Linked DNA regions of Homo sapiens: region 2 is linked to region 1. The links are contacts of gene promoters, found by promoter capture Hi-C in blood cells and fetal thymus (Javierre and others, 2016). All regions are on one chromosome and are shown on one strand. Each heading gives the region's core, a stretch centred on a gene start or on the middle of the fragment in contact. The rest is flanking DNA. Distances are from core to core; before and after follow the strand shown.

Evidence for each region. The method cuts DNA at HindIII sites, captures the fragments that hold promoters and counts their contacts. A CHiCAGO score of 5 or more calls a contact.
Region 2: a contact is called between a fragment that was not itself captured here and the fragment with the promoter of H1-7 in region 1, in 2 of 17 cell types (M0 macrophages and M1 macrophages). The highest score is 6.0, in M0 macrophages.

Annotation. Positions count from the first base shown.
Region 1 is chr12:48,326,487-48,331,975 of GRCh38, forward strand. H1-7 (H1.7 linker histone) reads left to right here and starts at 2,494. Exons shown (of 1, transcript NM_181788.1): 1 at 2,494-3,793. The coding sequence starts at 2,806. The coding sequence ends at 3,573. RefSeq lists an enhancer at 3,252-3,751. The HindIII fragment of the contact is 4,449 bases long and covers 515-4,963 here.
Region 2 is chr12:48,197,195-48,202,683 of GRCh38, forward strand. LOC102725258 (a long non-coding RNA gene) reads left to right here and starts at 1,167. Exons shown (of 3, transcript XR_001749122.3): 1 at 1,167-1,226. OR10AD1 (olfactory receptor family 10 subfamily AD member 1) reads right to left here. Exons shown (of 1, transcript NM_001004134.1): 1 at 5,145-5,489. The coding sequence ends at 5,145. The HindIII fragment of the contact is 1,307 bases long and covers 2,699-4,005 here.

The DNA of each region.
Region 1 (5,489 bases), core at 1,244-3,743:
AAATGGGAGAAATCCTGCTTAATGTGGTCCTGCCTTTCCATCTGGCAGTCCTTCCTGGGTGCACTGTCCCTGTGCTGATGCAGTAGTCCCCTGCCCATGTAAATCCTCAGGGTCACATTACTGTGCCCTGATTTTAAAGATGGGAAAAGGTACAGTGAGTGCCTTTAGATACTCTTGAATCTGAGCAGCTCTGAACTGTGATTATGGAGATAAACTAGCCCCTGCTTTATGGTGGAGATATATAATAGGGAAAGGGTCAACCTTAGAGAAAAGGAAACCTAACACAGTACTTAAGAACTTAGGCCTTAGGATTAAGTAGACTTAGGTTTGGTTCCAAACTCTACCACTTGCTACCGTGTCACCACTTACAGCTCTGTCATTATCACTAGTTGTCCTTCCCAATGTCCCTTAACTACCTTTTCAGTCGTATCTCCTGCTACTCCCCTTCTCATTGTCTACCCTCTCCCTGCCCCTCAACACACACCTGTGTTTTAACCAGATAGAACTACCTGGAAGCTTCTTAGAAGGTAAAACCTCTAGCCCTATCTTCAGACCTATGAATTGCACTTTATGAGTATCCCAGGGTATTAAATATGCACATTGAAGTTTAAGAAGCACTGGTCTGGCTGGGCGCAGTGGCTCATGCCTATAATCCCAGCAGTTTGTGAGGCTGAGGTGGGTGGATTGCTTGAGGCCAGGAGTTCGAGACCAGCCTGGCCAACATGGCAAAACCTCGTCTCTACCAATATATAAATAAATAAGGGCCAGGCGCAGTGGCTCACGCCTGTAATCCCAGCACTTTGGGAGGCCAAGGTGGGTGGATCACCTGAGGTCAGGAGTCTGAGACCAGCTTGGCCAACCAGCCTGGTGAAACCCCATCTCCACTAAAAATACTAAGATTAGCTGGGCATGGTAGCAGGAACCTGTAATCCTAGCTACTTGGGAGGCTGAGGCACGAGAATCACTTGAACCCAGGAGGCGGAGGTTGCAGTGAGCCGAGATTGCACCACTGCACTCCAGCCTGGGCAACAGAGTGAGACTTTGTCTCAAAAAAAAAAAAAAAAAATTAGCTGGATGTGGTGGCACATGCTTGTAATCCCAGCTTCTTGGGAGGGTGAGACACAGGAATTGCTTGAACCCAGGAGGTGGAGGTTACAGTGAGCCAAGATTGTGCCATTACATAGCCTGGGCTGAGCAAGACTCTGTCTCAAAAAAAAAAAAAAAAAGCACTGGTCTAAGCTACTTCCTGGAGCTTTGATTTTTAAAAGAAACTGTCACTGTCTAGCCTGTGACTGATGAATGTATGTGATTGCCCTCTGGAAAAGTATGATATGCTTGGCAATTTGAAGTATTCTTAGAATAATACTTTAAATTATTCCCAACTAAACTGTGTCCAAAATAGGTCCTTGATAAGCTAATCCTTACTTGGCCCCCTTCATTTCCAACCCTTTGAAATTCACTCTGCTCCTTTCTCCTGATCTTCTGGAAGTTTCTTTCTGAATCTAGAGAAACTCTCCTCACCAGAGAGGAATGATGTAAGCAGGCTCAATTAAATGCCCGCTGTGTATAATGAAGCATATTGTTAGGTGCAGCATGGGACATAGAAGTTCAAAGACTATAGCTCTTGAGGATATCTTTATTTAGTTGGAAATACAAGACAGAAACATTCAAAGTAAAGTAAATTTATTCCTTATATTTAGGTAGCCCTTGTTCATCTACCTCTTCTGAAATTTTGCAATAATTCTGTGATGTTGGTAGGAAGGGAATGTGATGTTAGATAAGAAGTCAGATGGCCGGCACATCCATCTGACAGCCACACCACTGATATTAAGGGATTTGTTAATGTCATATGGCTCCTAAAGAGCTAGGATATGCATCCATATCTTCCAGCTCCAAGTACGAGTTTTTTTCTTTTTAAAAAATATTGTGTCACATTATACCCTCTAATGCCAAATTCATTTAAAATAAAGAAAAAGCCATATAAGATTGCAGAAGTAATTTTGGTGGTTGTGGTAGTTAAGAGGCAAGAAATCATTTGAAAGAGTTTGGGGAGTCTTCAGTGAAGAAGGATAATGTAGCAGTACCTTGAAAGATGAGCAGGACTTATCTGGGCAGACAAAGAGGATGAGAAATCCAAGAGAGGGGATGAGATGGAAAAAAACACAGTATGTTCAAAGAATAATGATTAGACCAGTATCCTCAGGCGATGTGAAATCTAGATTGTTTCAGTACAGTTGAATGCGTCATCTAAATTTCCCAGGTGTGGGAATCAGTGTTTAGGGTAGAGGGATCACACAATTGGTTCCTTTTTTACTTCATGCTCTTGCACAGAATCCACTGTGTAGAATTAGGGAGACATGACTTCAGATACCTGACTGGTGGAATTAAAGGTGGGAGTTTCTAATCTGGGTTGTGTTTCATGGACTACCCCGTGTACTTTCTACAGGCAGTGTGTTGCTTGTTTTGGATAGTTGGGAGCAGCTTCGCTCACCTTAAGGAACTGTGGGTAGATGGTTTGCAGGACCACATACACACACAAAATAGCCGACTAAAGAAAGCGGTGGAGATCGAGATCAGTAAGTTTGATTTGGGAACAAAACCCTGGAGACTCTATAGGTAGGTGACTGTTGGGGGTGGACAGGCGCTGAAGACTTGGATTGGTTTAGACCTAGAAGGAAGTGGCATTTGATTGGTTATTATAAGTGAAAAGGGCCCCTCCCCGGGTGAGATATGCCAGCCCCATAATTAGGACCTGAAAATCTCTGCCAGGCCTGCCTTTGTGACGTGGCCCAGTCTACCTCAGCTATGGAACAGGCCTTGACTGGTGAGGCCCAAAGCCGGTGGCCCCGCAGAGGCGGGAGTGGGGCCATGGCTGAGGCGCCTGGGCCCAGTGGCGAATCCCGAGGACACTCAGCCACTCAGCTGCCAGCGGAAAAAACTGTCGGGGGACCATCGAGGGGCTGCTCAAGCTCCGTGCTCAGAGTGTCCCAGTTGGTGCTCCAGGCCATCTCCACTCACAAAGGGCTGACTCTGGCAGCTCTCAAGAAGGAGCTCCGAAACGCCGGCTACGAAGTGCGCAGGAAGAGCGGCCGCCACGAAGCGCCCAGGGGGCAGGCCAAGGCCACGCTCCTCCGGGTCAGCGGCAGCGACGCCGCCGGCTACTTCAGGGTCTGGAAGGTTCCCAAGCCCAGGAGAAAGCCGGGACGCGCGAGGCAAGAGGAGGGCACGCGCGCTCCCTGGAGGACCCCAGCCGCGCCCCGGAGCTCCCGGAGGCGCCGCCAGCCCCTTCGCAAGGCGGCCAGGAAGGCCAGAGAAGTGTGGAGACGGAACGCGAGGGCGAAAGCCAAGGCCAATGCCAGGGCGAGGAGGACCAGGAGGGCAAGGCCGAGAGCCAAGGAGCCGCCGTGTGCCAGAGCCAAGGAGGAAGCGGGAGCGACAGCGGCAGACGAGGGGCGAGGACAGGCCGTGAAGGAAGACACCACGCCGAGGTCAGGGAAGGACAAGAGGCGAAGCTCCAAGCCCAGGGAAGAGAAGCAGGAGCCCAAGAAGCCCGCACAGCGGACCATCCAGTAGCCAACGCGGGCTAAAACCGACCGGACATCTAGCGGGCAGGGGAAGACTCCACTAAAGACTTCCACAAAGACCTCCCCTAAATCTGAAGGTCTTCCTGATCCAGTTGGGAATGCATCTTGTGGGAGCAGCTTCACTCCCACCACGGACCAATGCCTTTCCCCCATAGGCCCCAAGAAGAGCGGCTGTCACACTCATTGAAATGAAATGGACCTCTAGACCACCTTGTGTCTGTTTCCTCTTTGCCGCACCTGGAAGGGAAGGGGTGGGTGGTGGTAACGTTCAGTGAAGACAGTAAATTAGCTGAGATTCTGTTCCTGCTGCAGAACTCAGAGAAATGTCTTTTAGAAGGAGAGAAAACAGAGGAAAACCAGCAGCTTAACAAGTGTTGAAGTATTGTTAGATACTCTAGCAAATCCAAATTGAGTTCTGGGGAGGAAGGCATGTTGGGAAAAGAGTAGACAGTCTTTAAGTTGAGTGGTCCCACTGATTCAAAGTGTTCTTACCTGAAATTCCTTTTAGGACAAAGTCCTCCCAAAATTGATTATAATGAGTTTGTAGTTTTTGCCTTGAATTGATAACCTATTTTAATTTAAAAGATATTCTTATGTCAATCCTCAGTTAAATAAGTGTATGAAAGCATCCAGCATAGGGCCTGGCATAGGATAGGTACTCATCACTGAGAGTTAAATATGTGTATAATTAATTCCCGATGGAGTGGTAATGTGCTATAGCAGAAAACTGCTGGACCACTATGTAGTAAGACCAAGATTCTAGTCAAAGTTCTGCTAGTCTGACCTTTGCTGAGTTATTTCTTAACCATTCATGGTCTTGGTTTTCTTCTCAGTAAAATGTTGGGATTGAGCTAAGATGATTTCTAGGTGATTTAAATGTCAGTAAAATGAAAAGGGGACTTAAACATCATGGCATAATGGTTTTCTTGACAAAATTCAGCAATAAGGAAATTATCTTCTGAGAAAGTGCCAACTCCTAAAGAGGAAATTATGAAGATTGACAGATTGCATAGCACAAATACAAGGAGATGGAGAAGGCTAGATAATGAATAGGTCTTTTGCTTTTCTTAACAATAACAACATGTATTGAGCACTGTGTAACAAGTATGAAACAAATGTATGATTTTAGTTCTGAATGCAGGGGTTAAGAAAAGTGCAGGAGTAGTTCTCATGCCATAGGCTGACAGGACACAAATGATTCCTCGGGAAGTAAAACGTCAAATTAGCTGATTGAAGGAAAGAGTAGCTGTTTTCAGCCGAAGTCAAAGGAATGGGGACATGGAAGCGGCTGGGAAGTACTTTGTATTCTTAAAGAGGTAAAAGTGGCAGTGGGAAGGTATTAGAACCTCCTGGGAGCTTTCTCCAGGTACACCTGACCAAGCTTTTCCTCAGGAGAGTCTTATATCTCCTACAAGCGGCAACAGGGTATGTGTATTTAAAACAGACCAAAAAAAAAAAAAAACACCAAAAAACCACCCTTAAGTGATGCTAATATTTACCCTTTCACACCCTTGAGAATCACTGCTTTAAGCCTATGCAAAGCCTAGTAACCGCAGAATTCTTGCAGCATTATCTCATCTATAGATGATCAGAACTTGACATTTCCCCATGTTGTAATTAAGTTTATTTTTTTTTTTAATTTATTTTTTTATTGATAATTCTTGGGTGTTTCTCACAGAGGGGGATTTGGCAGGGTCATGGGACAATAGTGGAGGGAAGGTCAGCAGATAAACAAGTGAACAAAGGTCTCTGGTTTTCCTAGGCAGAGGACCCTGCGGCCTTCCGCAGTGTTTGTGTCCCTGGGTACTTGAGATTAGGGAGTGGTGATGACTCTTAACCAGCATGTTGCCTTCAAGCATCTGTTTAACAAAGCACATCTTGCACCGCCCTTAATCCATTTAACCC
Region 2 (5,489 bases), core at 2,102-4,601, 130 kb before region 1:
TATGTTATTTAATCCTCATAACCACACTGAAGCATCGTTGCCCTAGTTAAGCCTCTTCAGCTAAGACTCTTCAGTTGCAAGAAACAGAAACCCATTTCAGACAGCTTTAAGCCAAACAACAACAACAAAAACATTTGTTATATGGGCGTAAGGTTATTTCACAGAACCCAAGAGTGAGAATGCAGCTGGGTCTTCAAGGCTGACCCAAACCAAGTGCTCCTTGAGGATCTAAATATATTTTTCATCTCCTAGATAAACCATATTTCTATATGTTAAACTGAATATTTCAGAGGAAGTCACTAATAATAGGTGTCTCGGGGGCTTCCGTGAAGGTTCAGGGCTCTGGACATTCCCACTCCACTCCTATCAGAACAGCTCTGTTTTTATTTGGTTAATACATCAGGATTCTGCCTAAGAGTTCATTGAGGAAATAGCACTACAGCACCTCCTCTGGCCAGATACTGTGCAAAGAATTACAAAATAAATCACAGACGAGTGGAGAAGATAGGAAAGTAAATACACTCTAAAACAATAAAGGAGTACAGTGACAGAAAAACGCACAGATTATTAAGGGAACTCAAAGAAAGTCTAGTAAGCCCAGAAAGGGGTAGGGCTTATGGGAGGTTTCACGGAGTGGATACCTGGAAAGGGGAGGTAAGGCAGCTCAAAGGACACTGTTGTTCAACGGAGGGAAGCGGATTCAACAATTATACAATTCGCTGAGTCGGGGCTTTCACTGCGAAAGAACTTGGCTTCGGATCCGTGATCAAGGCTGGGAGCTATGGAGGTGGATGTGATTGGCAAAGACCTCTGCTCAGGTCTGCGTCAAACCTTGCTTCGCTCCCATCCCATTCTGCGCCAATAGGGCGCAGTATCCCAACCATTCCACTCGGCTAGGAGGGGATCCTAAGCCTCAAGGTCCGCATCTCCCGCTGGAGGGACTGAGCAGCCGCACTGGTGTCCCAGAATAGATCGTGTTCCCCAGAGGTTGTCAGGTTCCCGCAATTCGGCGCGGGCGAGGCGGCCAAAGAGAGGGCGCTCATTGGCTGCCACAGCCCCGGTCCGAGAGGCCGAAGAAGGCTGATTCGTCACAGGCCGTCAGCGCGGGCCACGCCTATTTCCTCTCCAGGTTCTAATTAGGTCAGGGGCCCTACAGCCTCTTGGGTAGTTTGCAAGTGCGTCGCGGAGCCGGCCTCGGAAATATGGCGACAGCTTCAGCTTTCAGTGTGAGGGAGCCGAGGGCCCAGCCAAACCCTGCGGGAGGCAATTCCTGGGTACCCTTCCCATATTTTCGGTCTTTGGGCTGCGCCGTGGTAACCTCAGAGCCTGGTTGCGTGCTCACCAGCGACAAGTGTCTTTCATTGGGACATGAAAGGGGACTGGGAAGTGCCGTGCAGTTTCAGGGTGGTTTCTGGTTAATTACATTTTCATGGGTTTTCGCAGAGTCTGGGGGCAATTTGTGTCCTCCAGAGACCAGGGACCAGGGCCGAAGCTACGGCAGGGGAGACGCGGCCAGGGCCGTGGCTTCTAGTGCGAGCTCGGTTCGCGTCCGTTCCCGTCTGGCGCCCGGGCCTCCGGGAGCCCAGGGCCTTGAATGAGACAGTGCTCGTCCTTGAAAAAGCAGTTCTAGGTCACTCGGCCTGCTTTGCCAGCATTCCGGGCCCCAGCTCACCTTCCGCCATCCATGTTGACAACACCAGTTCTACGACGAAGCGGGCGATTCCTCTTGCCTGGAATTTCACTCGTCCCCGGTATCGAACCCCCGCCCCAATTTTCTACGTTACAACTCCAGCGTATTTTTAACGGCGCAGCCAGTATCACCTCCTTGGTATAAAGCCTGCGCTGTCCTGGACCTTCTTAGGAGTGCAGGCTTAGGAACAGGAGCTATGCTGTTCTATTATTTTTCTTTAGTTTAATTTTTTTTTTTTAGAGATGGGATCTCGCTGTGTCGCCCAGGCTAGAGTGCAGTGGCGGGATCATAGCTTACTGCAGGCTGGGGTCAAGCAATCCTCCCGCCTCAGCCTCCTGAGTGTATGGGATTATAGGCGCAGGCCTCTATGCCATTGTAAATGCTGTGGATTTTGAGTATTTGACCTCTATGAGCCTCAGTTTTTGCATCTCAACATTGAGATAATACTAGTACCTCATAAGGTTATGTGACGATTAAATGGAAAGCTCTTACAATATAAGTGCTTAATAAGTATGTTATCATATGTGCTTCCAAAGTACTTTGTGTAGGCCTTTTATAACGCTTGCCCTTTCTATTACCATTATTTGTTCTTGCCTGCCCTACTAGACTGAGATTCTCAAAAGCTGGAACTGTCTTGTTTATAATCTCAGCGTCTGTCAGTGCTGGGCAAATGTAAAGCTAAGAAATGATTTCTTAGAAAACTTTTTAAAAGCAGTCTTTCTTCTCCTTTCCCTTTCTTCCTTTCCTTCACTTTTTCCTCTTTGAGATAGGAATTTTCAAACCTAGAGAAGAAGCTGAGACCCTAGGGGGAAAGATTGGGACCTTTTTGTTGTTGTTCTCAGTGGTGACCAAAAGAGCCTTAACATTCACCTCAGCCTGACAACTTTAGACAGGTTTCTTCTGGATGTTAGGGCCCTGACCTCCCCTTTCTTTGAGTGTTTACTTTAGAAAACTTGTGATTGCAAAATTCTTCTCTGCTCCTTTGAAATGTGTATAAATCTCCTTAGAAGCTTATGCCAGTTTTACGACCTAGGGAATGTCTTTCTCAAGGACCTGTGAGCCATCCCTTTGAAATGTAATCATCAAGGAAGATAGCACCCCTATCTCTCAGTCTCTGTGGGAGGGTGGGAGCCTAACCTCCTGTGGGTGCCTTGTTTGGAATTGTAAAACTACAGCTTGTTTTGAAGATACAAGAAAGTGTCCTTTTCCTTTGCAGTTAGCAAACACAGATGTCATGTGATTTCCCGTACAGCAGCTCTTAAAAACTTCCCAGACCCTTGTTTGAGTAGTGTTGAGTTTAATCTCGTATTGCAATAGTCTTAAGGTCTTTCTTGCCTGTTTAACTTTGATGCAAATTTTGACAATGGAAATTTTAGGTTCTGCATTTATCGTTTCTTCCCAATTACAGTGGTTTCTCCTTTCTCCTTGTTAAGAAGAGCTTCTCACATCCTCTGATTTCTGGAGAAATCAATTTGGACTCAAAAGATTGGAGTTTTGTGGAGTGAAGCTACTGTTTTTGTTTTGTTTTGTTTTGTTTTGTTTTGCCTGAGATAGAGTCTCACTCTGTCACCCAGGCTGGAGTGCAGTGGTGTAATTATGGCTCACTGCAGCCTCTGCCTCCTGGGTTCAAGTGATCCTCCTGCCTCAGCCTCTCAAGTAGCTAGAATTACAAGCATGCGCTACCACGCCCAGCTAATTTTTGTATTTTTATTAGAGACGGGGTTTCACCATGTTGACCAAGCTGGTCTTGAGCTCCTGGCCTCAAGTAATCTGCCCACCTTGGCCTCCCACAGTGCTGGAATCACAGGTGTGAGCCACCACGTGCTGCCAGAAGCTACTGTTTTAAGTCATCATTGCAAAGGGTAGTGTGTGATGCGCAGGAGTGGAAAGGGCAGTACATCTATTTGAGAGCATCCCAAATGAGGTCCATTCATATTATGGAAGTGCACTGCGAAATAAAGAACAGGCCTACCCCCTTGTTTTATTATGAAGGGGTATGAGAAAAATGCAATTTTCAAAGAAAGAGAACTGCTGAGGATGTAGTACCTTCTCAAAGAAAGCTGTGTTTGGTTAAGGTGAGAAGCTAGAGGAAGCCACAGAGGGCAGGGTTACAAATTGAAAGACTTCTGCAATGGTAGAGGTAGTATGCAGAAGGGTTCCTTAAAATACAGGGATCCATGTAAGATGAGGAGGTAAGGTGGAGTAGGATTGAGGTGGAATGAAATGAAAGATGGAAGAGAAAAAGGAAGGCAGTAGGGGGAGAGGGGAGTTAATTTGGGGTATGGATAACAGGGAAGGAAATAGGTAACCTGAGAAGCTTGGTAGAGGCACTTGCCACTTGCATGGGAAGGGAAATATCATGCAGACGGTCCTGTTGCTAAAGGAAGCTAGAGGATTTAGGAGAAGGGGTTTGGCACACTGGCCTCTATCACCCATCCGTCCCCGACAACACACAACACAGACAAATTGAGTGCACTGTTGACATTTAGTATCATTCTCCCCCCATGACTGGTGGAAGCTAAGAAGATGAAGTTCAGGGTGCTGATCTTTTTTTTTTCTTTAACTGACTTTTCTTATGTGAGTACTTACCCCTAGTTCCCTCTTTCTTCCCTTCCCTTCCCTCCCTCCCTCCTTCCCTCCCTTCCTTCCTTCCTTCTTCTTCTTCATTTTTTTTTTTTTTAATGAGACAAGGTCTTGCTGCGTTGCTCAGGCTGGAGTGCAGCAGTGCTATCATTGCTCGTGCAGCCTTAACCTCCCAGGCTCAAGCAATCCTCCCACCTCAGCCTCCTCAGTAGCTGGGACTACAGGCATGTGCCACCACACCCAGTTCATTTTTTAAATTTTTTGTAGAGATGGGTCTCCCTATGTTGCCCAGGCAGGTCTCAAACTCCATCCTCAGCCTCCCAAAGTGCTGAGATTACAGTCATGAGCCACTGCGCCCAGCCCTTTTTTTCTTGCTTCTTTACCTACTTTTCACAGGAATTGGGTAGATGAGGGTAGACCCAGGAAGTGAGAGTGGAATTTGAGAAAGAAAAACAGTAAAATGAAGAGCTGAAAAATAAAAGAGTTTATTTCTAAATGTATGTACGAAACTCAGGTTGGGGGACTAGCATGTAAAGGTATATACAAATAAAATGGAGTTAAGTGCACTTATTTATTGAATCCTGTTGTGAGAACTTAAGAGGAAAAGAAACTGAGGAAAAAAACTAAGGAAAATCCGAAATTCTCCCGAGGAAGGTCCAAGAAAAAACAATGTGGAAGTGAAGTCAGAGAGATAACATCAGGACATTGGACATCAGGAGGAACTTTCAGGTCTGATTCTAGTGCCAAGGAAGCCATGAACGCTCTTTCCTGGAGCCTTTCAGCATAGGAGAGTTACTCATCTGCCAGGGCTGGGGATGGGGTAACTCTCCCATTCCCCAGGTGAAGGAGCTTTCCTTTCAGGGCCTTCCTGCTAGACAGACTGTGGCTGGGCCAGCCTGGTTCTTCCAAGTGCCCTCACCATGGCCTCCTTAATTTCCTTGTTGCGGAAACTATAAATGATGGGGTTGCACATGGGGGTAATGATGGTGTACAGGAGGGAGAAAGGTTTGTCTTTGTCAGGCCCATGTGTGCTGTGGGGGTTCATGTAAGAGAACATAGCTGAAGTGTAGAGAAAGATGACCACAGTCAGGTGAGAGGCACAAGTAGAGAAAGTCTTCCCCCGACCTGAGGAGGAGGCTTTGCTGAGGATGGTGGCCAGGATGTGCACATAGGAAGTGACAGTGAGCACCATGGGGCTGAGAATTACCACGATGGC